Regions from separate parts of the Homo sapiens genome. Here region 1 is linked to region 2. Evidence: promoter capture Hi-C in 16 types of primary human blood cells and fetal thymus (Javierre and others, 2016). All regions are on one chromosome and are shown on one strand. Each heading gives the region's core, a stretch centred on a gene start or on the middle of the fragment in contact. The rest is flanking DNA. Distances are from core to core; before and after follow the strand shown.

Region 1 (5,868 bases), core at 1,085-3,584, 760 kb after region 2:
GGGGCCGACATGGGCAGATCACTTGAGGTCAGGAGTTTGAGACTAGCCTGGCCAACATCAGGAAACCCCATCTCTATTAAAAATACAAAAAATTATCTGGGCTTGGTGATGCACACCTGTAGTCCCAGCTACTCAGGAGGCTGAGGCAGGAGAATCGCTTGAACCTGGGAGGAAGAGGCTGCAATAAGCCAAGATCATGCCACTGCACTCCAGCCTGGGTGACAGAGCAAGACTCCATCTCAAAAAAAAAAAAAAAAAAATATATATATATATATATATATGCTTGAAGTTATATCAAATGTTAGCTGACAGGACAGAAGGGAAAAAATGTTTTGAATAATTCTAGGTTTAGAATCCTGGAACAATAGTTTATAAGGTAGTTTCCCTAGATCAAGTTACCAGTCTTTTAATTTGTGTTCCCTGATCCAACTAATGGGCATAATTATTGGTACTGGATAGAATTGTTGAAATCAAAATGAGATGAAATATAAAATACCCTTTATATAGTAGTTGTGTACCTGTTAATAGACTACCATCCAGGTTCCCTTTCCAAAGGGCCACAGCTTGGTCTAGTTCAACATCTCAGAGATCAGCCAGTCCATGTACATACAGAAGATACTTTATCTTCCATTTAGTAGTGTAACTTGCTTATTTAACTGTAGTGGGTAGAATTGTGTCCCCCTCAAAACATGTCCCAATCCTAACCCACACAAACTTTATTTGGAAATAGGTTCTATGTAGACATAATGAAGTGAAAGATCTCCAGAAGGGAATATCCTGAATGTAGGTTGATGCCTAACTCCAATGACTGGTATCTATATAAAAGAAAGCAGAGGGAGATTTGACACATCCAGGGAAGAAGGCCATGTGAATATTGAGGCAGAGATTGAGTTATGCCACCTCAAATCAAATAAAGCAGGAGCCACAAGAAGCTGGAAGAGCTAAGAAAGGATTCTCCCCTAAAGGCTTTGGAGGCAGTGCAGTCCTGCCTACACCTTGATTTTGTACTTCAGGCTTTGGTTTTGTACATCGGAATCATGGCATAATAAATTGCTGTTGTTTAAATATGCAAAGTTTATGATAATTTGTTATGGTGGCCCTAGGAAACTATTACATGTACAAACATCATACCCCAAATGTCATTGATTATGAATAAACATTGGTCAATACCCTAATTTTTTTTCATGGCTACAGGGATACGAATGCCAGTAAGACATGTGAAAAGTATTTAAAAGTGCCAACATTTCGTAGGTACTATATGCTTTTAATGTATTGGATCATTCAGTGCCCAGAACACACTTATGAGTTAAATACTATTGCAGAATTCAATTTTACAAATGGAAAACTGAGGGACAGAGAGGATAATGACTTTGCCTAAGACTGAACAGTTAAGGAGTGGGACAGCTTGGACTTATGTCCAGTGCATCATGCTCTAGAGCCTGGGAAACTGTGAAAGCTCTGTTGTTAGGTGAAAGAAGCAGTCTGCAAGCATACATACTTTAGGAGCTCATTAAAAGTAATATGCCCTATGTTAGTGTATTTATACAAAACCTGGACCTAGTAAGAAATGGGTGGATTATGACTTTGGAGAGAATGTTCATGGCAATCCCAGAGACAGAAGCCATAGGGCAGTGGGATGATGAGTGGGAAGTGAAAAATGTTAACAGAGCATGTAGAAAACTCTTTTTGGTACTTCGAATATGAAGGAGAAGAAGGATAAGGGAGGGAGAGACAGAGACAGGGAGAACTGTATCCTGTAGCTGAATGGGTGATAAGGGGGTCCAAGGAGAGATTTTTTTTTTAAATCTTCAATTTCTTGAAACTTGACCAAGTTAAAAGCTAATGTGAAAAAAAAGCTATCTCAGAATTAACCCTTGAAGTTGACCACATGTTTATTTCCCTTATGCTTTTATATCACATTGGAGCTCATGAGATACCTCTGATGGAATAGAATGGGTTTGAGCTCAATAGGTATTTAGTTATTACCTAATGAAAGAATAGACATTGTGTGTGAAGAAATGCTAGTAACTCTTGGATTTTTGTCTCTCAGGGAGGCAGCAGATGGCTGAAATTCTGATCCGATGTGGCTGGTTAATGCATGATCTGAAAACCCCTGCACTGGTGATTTTGGGACAGATCTAGAATATACCAATAAATATATTAACATACCAAGTAGTCTAGGAGCAGCCACTGGGCGAACACCAAACCTTGCATCCCTGCTGCTGTCTCTGAGCTCAGCAGGTAAGTTCAAAGACATGCCTGTCTTCCCAGTGTGGGGAACTAAATTTGGGTCATCTCAGAAGCATGATGTTGGGCAGCTCTTACGAGCTTCTGATAACACCCACGAAGCAGAGAAACTACTGTCTACAAAACTTTGAACTCAAGGCATGTCACAGGGACATTTGCTTTCTTCAAATAGATGTCTGTGTTCTCATAAGGGGGAGCAATGAGAAATGATTTTTCACAATGCCTGCCTTAGCACTGAGGCTCAGCCAGCCCCTAGTGCTGTGTCCCATTTAAAGGCCATTTAAGTCCCACCCCATGCCATATACTCTCAAGAGGTTTCCTCATATACCCATCAGACAGCTATGTAAGGATGGTATGGTCAGTCCCATTTCACAGATGACTAACCTCAGGCTCACAGAGCCTAAGTCACCTCTTCAGGTAAGTGGCAGGGTTTGAATGAAATTCCATCCCTCACCCTCCCTAGAGTACCCTGAGCAGCCTCCCTTTTAGAAGATGGGTTTCTGGGCTTGAGAAATGGTGAGATTTCACCCACCTGCTATTGTAACCCCATGAGTCTTTACTCAACAACTTTTCTGGGTGAAGATGACAGAGGTGAGATCCCATTCTTTGTGCCAAGAGACCTGTGTGTAGGGACACATGAGTTGGCTGATGCCTGAAGTGGTGAGTGGGCTCAGGCAGAAACTCAAGTGTTGTACTTGAGACAGGTGAGCATATATATGTGTGTGTATATATATATGAGTTTATTAAGTATTAACTTACACAGTCACAGGGTCCCACAATAGGCTGTCTGCAAGCTGAGGAACAAGGAGAGTCAGTCCGAGTCCCAAAACTGAAGAACTTTGAGTCCAATGTTTGAGGGCAGGAAGCATCCAGCACGGGAGAAAGATGTAGGCTGGGAGGCTAGGCCCGTCTCTCTTTTTCACATTTTTCTGCCTGCTTTATATTTGCTGGAAGCTGATTAGATTGTGCCCACCAGATTAAGGGTGGATCTGCCTTTCCCAGCCCACTGACTCAAATGTTAATCTCTTTTGGCAACACCCACACAGACACAACCGGGATTAATACTTTGTATCCTTCAATCCAATCAAGTTTACACTCAGTGTTAACCATCGCAACTCCTTTAGGCAAATGCACTCTGTATTTCATCTTCTTTAATGTCAACAGCTATTCAAGTTACCCACAAGAATACCCACTGAATTATGACCATTATTCAGATCAGGGTACTTTAGGCAAGTTTCTGTACATCAGGGAAATACCTTTGTTGTGTCTCGATTAGCAGGTAATTCTGAATTATTCTAAAGTTTTCTCCAGTTTGTCTCTGTGCCTCCTGGTCTCGGGAATGATCTAATCTCCTTGGGCACTGCCATTACATGTTCCAAGGCAGTTTAACATTTTTTTAAAAATTGTGATCCATGTGGTTTTAAGTCAGAAGATAATTTAAATTGAAAAATTCTAAATTAAAAAAAACTAAGAATAGCGTAAAAACTCTGGAAAAATCCGTACAAACTAGAGCTGAGATACTGGATTAGAATTCATGCTTTGTGAAGCACACTAACAAAGAGCTTGGCAAATAATTTCAGTGGAGAAGTCAAATAGTTAGATACATGAACAATAAACACATTAACTATGCCAAAACCACAAAAACTAATAAGATGTAAATATAAATCCTGAGAAGAAAAGTGGAAAAAATAGGTTGCAAAAGAAGATAAGGATGTGATTCGACCTTTGGAACAGACTGTGTGTGTGTAGGTGAACATATTTGTGTGCATCTCACTTGTGGAGACACATTTCACAGTATGCACCATTCTGTGGACAGCAGACAACTAGGGGTCAGGGATTAGGAGCTGCTCCAGTGAGAGATACAGGTTAATTTCAATTCATATATGTGTTTTTATATATTGTTTTACATTTTATATTCAGGAAAAAGTATTTTGATGAAATATTAAAAACAATATGCTGTGAACATATTGACAAGAGTATGGTACACATATATTCCTTACTTCAGGCATTCATTTATTCAATTTCCTGGGGAAATAAAGTAGATTTTTAAAAAATGAATTGACTCACACGCAAGTGTGTGTGTGTGTGTGTTCTAGCTCCTCTAGCTCTACCACCTCAAATACAGTTCACAATTGCAGCATTATCCCCAGTTCAGACTGATGCTGTACTTCCAATATCAGATTTAGATATCCCCGAAAACGTACTTTTTTATAACCCAGAAAAATGATGGATACAGAGGGATTCCTGTAGGTACGTAAAAAATTCCAGAAAACTGGCTGATCACATTAATCAACCTCCCAACCTCCATCCCTCCCTTTCCCCTGCTGAACTCACCAGTCAGCTCTCAGAGTTGCAATCCTGGCTCTGGCCACTAGGAGACATCGCAGCCATCTTCACATTTGTTCTTTTTTAAGGAAAAGGAGTACATCTAACAAACAGTAACAGATGTTATAACATGGTTTGTTCACTGAAATACCAGTTGTTTGGAGTATTCGCGTGTATATTAAAGCAGTTCCATTTGCTGTCGTCCCCAAATCTACATCGCATTCATTGATTCATCTCTTCCCTTCTCTGTTGGTAGAGGTTTCCACATTGTAGGAGGGTCCCTTCCAGAGAGCAGGGCGTTCGTTCACTCTCCATTACCCCACCCCTGTATAGGCTTCCTGGTCCTTCTACCACTGCCTCCCACTCATCCCCTCTCCAGGGGCACAGCTGCCCAGACCTGCCCCTTGTGCCGTCATCCTCTCTCAGTCACCTCTCACCTGCCCTGATGCTCACTTAAGATTCTGTCTTCCAGCAACAGCCAAGGAGTGTTAGACCTACCTGGTGTTTCATCCTATGGATGCCCCACAGTATATGTATTTGCAGTCTTCTTTTACACTTACCAGTTTTTTTTTCCTTTGACAGAATTAGAATGAATCATTCTGCACTTAGGCTTATAAGCTGTGGTTTAAGAGAAGTATTTTTTGCTCCTTGCAGACACGTCTTTGCAGAAGAGTTCTATAATGGTGGTACAATGGTGCCCCCTCGTGACAGAAGCTTGAACTACAGCTTGAACATCGGTGAGCAGGAAGGTGGGAGGGAGGGGCTCTGGCCCATGCACACCCTATAGAGCGTTCTGAAACTCTGGGTTGAAAAGGAGACATTCCAGGTTAAAGGGATATAGAAGGCCAATAGATATTCCAGCCTCTTTATATGCTGAATAGAGAGCTGTATGTGAGAATAACAGAAAAATCATTTTAATTTCTGTAGAGATGAAAATATACTGTCTACGTTGTTCAACACAATAGCTAATGGCAACTGTGGCAGTTGAACACCCGAAACGTGATGAATGTGACTGAGGAACTGAACTTTTAGTTTCATGTAAGTTTAATCAACTTAAATTTAAATGGCTATATGTGGACAATGCCTACTATATTGGACAGCAGTGGCTCAACACATTTTTCTGTACCTTTCTTTCTTCACTTAACAATTTATGCTGGAAATCATTACAAAGGAGTAGAAGGGGGAATTCTCATTGCTTATTTTACCTCCATAGAACTCTGGGATGTAGATGTACCTTAGATTATTCAATCAATTCCTTATTGGTGGACATCTGTCTCATTTCTAGTCTTGTCCTGT
Region 2 (6,018 bases), core at 1-2,500:
TCTTCCTCGTCTGACTTTCCTTCATCATCAGGCTCTACTTCATCTTCTGGCTTTCCCTCGTTTTCCAGGTTTCCTTCATTTTTATTGTAGGGTTTTTCCATGTCGAGATTTCTCTTTTTCCTGTCCTGGGGGATGACAGTGGAGGGAAGAGGAGACAAATAAGAGACATGGGAGACTGAGGGCATGGGGTGGAATGCAGGTCTGGATACTACTTGCATCTCACCCCTGGTGAGGGTTCCCCTAAGCTGGCCGGGCCTCCAAGAGGGCCTTCTGCCCAGCACGTAGCCCACCACTCCTCCCACACACGTGAGCCAGCCATACCCTGGCAGGCCCTGCCACCTTCTCTGAACTGATTCAGCCTGGTAAGGTGTGTGTTCACGTGGGTGGGGTTATGTGCAGGGGTCCCAATTTGGCCTTGGCCGGGCCCTCCACACTCTCAACCCTTGTGGGCCCCTGTCCATGCAGCCCCCTGCTTTCACGGACCTGCGGGGAGTCTGGACAGGTTGCTCTTCCTTTGCAGGCCTCCAAGAGCGCTGGGAACAACAGACGCGCAGACCTGCGGACAGACAGGAGACAGGGGTAGGGGCTGCGCGCTCAGCGGGCTCACAGGGACTCCGTTCCCTTTTCTGAGTCTAGGCCCTGCTCACCCAATGTTTTCCTCCCCTACCTCCCCCGCACCCCAGCCGCCATTTCTTTCCAGGCCTCGGGCACCAAACCAGGATGCTTCCAAACTGCGTTTGCCTCTTTGTGCCCCTTCCCCCGGAGGCAACCTGTCTCAGCGCCACCCCGTTTTTGCGGAGGTCAGATGTTTCCATGGGAGCGGATTGTGAGAGGGGGTTATTTCCAGAATAAGTCTGTGTTTCACTGTCGCACTGCGGGGTCGCTACCCCCAGCCCCCCATTTCCAGCACTAAAATGGATGGAGGGCTCAGTGCAAGGGGCGTCGAGAAGGCGAGCCAGGTTCGCTTCGGGGTGCTCCCTCCCCTGCCCCCGCCCCGGCCCGCTCAGCATCCCCCTCCTCCCCAATCTACCGGATCCCTTCTCCGCCCCCTCCCCAATCCTACTGCCAGCCCCCTCCACCCCTGTCCCAGGGTCCGCCGGCAGCGCACGCCTTCACACTGACCTGCGGGGACCCAGGACAGGCCTGTGCCTCCTGCGGCTCGCTGAAGCCCGCTCGCTGCTCCCCCGCCGCCTGGGCAGCTCAGACAGCTGATTCTGCGCGGGCGCCTGGACCGGACCGCTGGGCGGGCGGGCGGGCGCGGGGGCTGGTGCCCACGTAGGCGCCTGGTCACTCACGTGAGCACCGCGTCACGGGAGCTAGGCCACCACCACCCCCTTCCCGCCCACCTCACCATCCATCCCCGAGGGACCAGGAGGTTGCGGAAGGTGGGAGAGGGTGTGTGTAACAAAGGAGTGGGGGTCATCAAGAAGAAGAGGAGGAGGGGGTGGCTTTCTGATCTCAGGTGCTTTACCTGACGCAGCTCACAGCATCCTCGCAAGGCATCTCTCTCTGATGCCCATTATCGCCAGGTGTGACAGCTGATCAGAGAGGGTACCCGACTTTGCCAAGAGCGCTTAGCCCCAGAACTCCACAGCCCACTTTCAATACCGGCTCTGCCTGACTCCAGAGCCCGGGGGGTAGTGGTGCCTGCCAGGAAGCTGAGCTGCCACCTTGAGTGGCGGTGTTCCTGGGGTTCTGTCCTGGGCCTCCTCTCTCCTCAGTCCTCAAGTTGTCTCTCCCTGTGTGATCTCATTCATTTCCAGTAAACACCGATGACTCCCAGATCTACAGCTCCAGGCTGTTCCCTTCTCCGTGTCTCATATCAGCTTTGCCAACTGTTTATTGGACATCACCGCCTGAGTATCCCTGAGGGACACGGTATGTAAAAACCCTGTACCACAAATTGATTTCAAAAGCCCATGTACCCCAAATTGATTTACCAACTTCCTTCTTATAATCTCCATTGGCCTTTCTCCACACTTGAAAGTTACCTTCCAACAGTTGACCAGTTTTCATAGAAAGAGAATGTCAGACAGCTAGAAAGGAAAGCATTCAAACGTTTTTAATATGAACTGCAGATCCACAAATTCATCATAACCCTTGGTTCACAACATGCTCTTCTCATTGACTACTCTTCTCTCCCCTGCTTTCCCTTCTTTTCCCCCACTGTTTACTTTCGTTCCATTGTTTTTCTCTTTCACATTTGTGAAACCACCACTAAACCCAAAGAACTAGAAAATTGCTAATAACTGTTTACTTTCCTTCCATTGTTTTTCTCTTTCACATTTGTGAAACCACCACTGAACCCAAAGAACTAGAAAATTTTTAATATTCTTGTCACTACAGTGTAGTGTCATATATTTGGGTTTTGACAAGATACTTATAACATGTTTTTGTTTGGATCTCTTTCAGATTATCCTGTTTGGAGTGTATTGAACTTCTTGGATACATCGATTAGTGTCTTTCCTCAAGTTTGAGTAATTTGCAGTCATTTTTCCTTTGAAAATTCTTTCTTCTCTATTCTGTTTCTCTCCTTGTTGAACCCCCATCATGCATAGGTGTGCTCTGTTCATTTTTCACATTACTTTTATTTTTCTGCTCCTCGGACTGAATAATCTCAATTGACCTATTTTAAGTTCACTGATTCTTTTGCCTGCCCAAACCTACTGTTGTACCCCTCTAGTGACTTTTAGTTATTGTACTTTTCAAATAAAGAATTTCTATTTATTTTATAATTTCTACATCTCTTTGTATTTTTACATCTTTACTGATATTGTGTATTTGCTGAGACATTCTTCTCTTTTTCTTTAGTCCTTTGTTTACGATTTCCTTTAGTTCTTCGAGCATATATAAGACAGTTGATTAAAAATATTTTCTAGATATTCTAATACACGGGCTTTTTCATGATAGTATCTAATTATTTCTTTCCTGTGTATGGGCTATGTTTTCTTATTTCCTTATATGCCTCACAAAGTTTTGTTGAAATCTGTATATTTTGATTCTAATATGTTGACTCTGGAAATTAGATTTTCCCTCTTCCTTGGGTTTTGTTGTTACTCTCTCGTGGGTTATTGTTTACTTAGTGACTTTTTAAAGTATTTTAGCAAATTATGTATTCTTTGTCATGTGTGGCCACTGAAGTCTGTGTTTTATTAGCTTATTAATCAGCTGGTGTTTGGATGCCGTTACTCTAAGTACCTAAAGCCAACAAAAGAAAAACAATAAATAAAAAAATAATTTCCTGGCCTGGCGCGGTGGCTCACACCTGTAATCCCAGCACTTGGGGAGGCCGAGGCAGGTGGATCGCCTGGGCTCAGGAGTTCAAGACCACCCAGGGCAACATGGTGAAACCCCGTCTCTACTAAAAATACAAAAAAATTTACCAGGTGTGGTGGCGCACGTCTCTAGTCCCAGCTACTTGGGAGGCTGAGACAGGAGAATCACTTGAGCCCCAGAGGCGAAGGTTGCAGTGAGCGGATATCATGCCACTGTACTCCAGCTTGGGCTAGAGAGTGAGGCTCCATCTCAAAAACAAAACAAAACAAAACAAATTTCCCAGTCTTTGCAGATGAACTCTGAGTTGGAGTACCTTTTTAATGCTTTGCATTTTTCTTATGCAGAGCCTGAAGCTCAAATTCAATGAAGTTGAATGCTTGCATTTTCTCTGGTCTTTTCTGAGTATGTGTCCCACCCTTGGCATACACATGGCCTTCTTGATTTTCCAGTATATATAAAGGGTTTTTTAAAATGCTTGTTCTTCCACATATCTTGTTTCCCTAACTCTTCCTTCTCAGGCTTCTCGGTCTGTTCATTGCTTATTCTGAGTGTTGTCCTTTGCTCCAGACTTCTTTGGTCAATACCTGTGATTTTAAATGCTTCTGGCAAAAGCCAACTGGAGAGCCAATGCAGCCCAAGCCCTGGGAGTCCTCCCAGTCTGGTGTAATGAAAGAAGCCTTAGTGATGAAAGTGCTGCCAGGCAGGCTGATAGCCATACCACACTTCTATGAGAATACGGTCCAAATTCCTACCACTGGTACTAGCTATCTAAACCAGGATAGTGGGCTATCATCAACAGATCACTGCTAATCTGGGGCATAGAGAATGGTAGATAGGCAATTGAAAATTTCTTTCTTACCACAAATTAGCAGCTTTTATTCTTCACCAAATTTTCCTCTCATTGTTATAATTTTTTGACTGGATTCCAGAGTTCTGAGAAAGCTGATGGTAGCAGTTTTTGCCAGCTCACTAATTGCTCATTATGGAGTTCCGGAGTTCCATACACTACCATTTTTAATGATGTTACTTGTGTTTCTATTTCTTTTTAAGTCAATTGGGTAGGTTGTGTCTTTTTTGGAATTCATCCCATTCATCTACCTTGTCTCATTTTTTTGTCATGCAGTTGTTAATAGTATTACCTTATAATCTTTTTTTATATATCTGTAGAGTTGCTAATGATGACCCCTCTTTTATTCCTGATTTTAATAGTTTCAGTCTTCATCATTTTTTATTGGTGAGTGTAGCTAAAGTTTTGTCAGGTTTTATATATATTTTCAAAGAACAAACTTTTAGTTTCATTGATGTTCTATTCTGTAATTCATTTATTTCCACTCTAGTGGTTACTATTCCCTTCCTTCTGATTTCTTTGATTTAAGTTGCTCTTCTTTCTGTAGCTTTTTAAGATGAAAGTTTACTGATATGGGATTTTCATCTTTTCAAAGTAAACATTTACTGTTACACATTTCCATCTAAATGCTGCTTAACTATATCCCATAACTTTTGATGTGTTGTGGGGTTTTTTTTTGTTTTTAAAGTATTTTCCAATTTCTCTCATGATATTTCAGGTTGAATTGAAGTACATTGTTTAATTTCCACATATTTGCAGGGTTTTTGAATTTCTTTATGTTGTTGATTACAAATTTAATTCCATTATGATCATGGAATATTATTTTTATAATTTCAATACTTTTAAGTGTATATAGGATTTTATTATTTATTATGTAGTCTTTCCAGGAAAATGTTCCATGGGTGCTTGACAAGAATGTGTATGCTTATGCTGTTTGGAGTGTTCTATACATGTCTGTTATTCCAGTTGGTTTTGTAGTTTTGTTTAAGTCTTCTGTTTCCTTGTTGATATTCTTATTTGTTTCATTTATTTTTGAATGTGTGGTTTTGAAGTCTCCAATTACTATTGTTAAATTATCTTGATTCTCTTCTAATTTTTTCCTTCTATTCTGTAAGTTTTTGCTTTATGTATTTTGGAAATCTGTTTTATGTTCATATATGTTTATAATTTTTGTATAGTCCTGAAGGATAGGACTTGTTATATAACACGTTTTTATTCTACGATAACATTTTTTGTCTTAATGTCTTTTTCATCTGACTCTTTTGGTTATTCTTTGCATAGTATATATTTTCCATCCTTTCACATTAATTTTATTTGCTTATTTAAATATATTCTCTTTTAGATAGTGTATAGTTGTATCATGCTTTTTTTTTTTTACCCATTCTGCTACTTTCTGCCTTTTGACTGAAGTGTTTAATCAACTTATATTTAATGCAATAATGATAAGGTGATATTTACATTTGCTGTTTTGCTATTTGTTTTCCATTTGTTGTGTGTTTTTGTTCCTCTATTTCTCCATTATTGAATTACTTTTAAAAGGATATTTTTTTGGCCTACCATTTTAATTCTCCTTTTTCTTGTACAAAGTTTTTGAATAATTTTCTTGTGTAGTTGGCCTAGGGATTAAAATTAGTATATTAATTTAAAACAAGTGAATTTGTATCAATAATTTTAATGGGATGCAAAACTATCTCCATTTCCTCTTTCCTCCTTTGTGATTTAGGAAGAGTGTCATAGAAATTACATCTTAGCCATTATATCTGTTTTGTAATTATTGTTTTATCAAGTTTTCTTTCTAATCTAATAAGAGAAAAATGAGTTACAGACAAATATACGTTTATAACTATTTGTATTTATTTCCTATTGTTGCTGTAACAATTACCACAAACTTAGTG

The links. Contacts are between HindIII fragments. The CHiCAGO score rates a contact against its expected background, and 5 or more counts as called.
Region 1: a contact is called between a fragment that was not itself captured here and the fragment with the promoter of TCEAL6 in region 2, in 5 of 17 cell types (total CD8 T cells, naive CD4 T cells, total CD4 T cells and 2 more). The highest score is 7.0, in total CD8 T cells.

The regions. Positions count from the first base shown.
Region 1 is chrX:102,895,524-102,901,391 of GRCh38, forward strand. It overlaps ARMCX5-GPRASP2 (ARMCX5-GPRASP2 readthrough), which reads left to right. Exons shown (of 19, transcript NR_146584.3): 15 at 2,051-2,241; 16 at 5,227-5,309; 17 at 5,500-5,610. It overlaps LINC00630 (long intergenic non-protein coding RNA 630), which reads left to right. Exons shown (of 12, transcript NR_146589.1): 6 at 2,051-2,241; 7 at 5,227-5,309; 8 at 5,500-5,610. Among named protein-coding and RNA genes, the nearest start is that of RAB40AL, 39 kb to the right of the region's middle. The HindIII fragment of the contact is 5,900 bases long and covers 1-5,284 here.
Region 2 is chrX:102,141,231-102,147,248 of GRCh38, forward strand. TCEAL6 (transcription elongation factor A like 6) reads right to left here and starts at 1,251. Exons shown (of 3, transcript NM_001006938.3): 1 at 1,123-1,251; 2 at 484-556; 3 at 1-125. The coding sequence starts at 101. LOC105373299 (a long non-coding RNA gene) reads left to right here and starts at 498. Exons shown (of 3, transcript XR_007068283.1): 1 at 498-579; 2 at 1,764-1,878; 3 at 2,413-2,735. The HindIII fragment of the contact is 10,164 bases long and covers 1-6,018 here.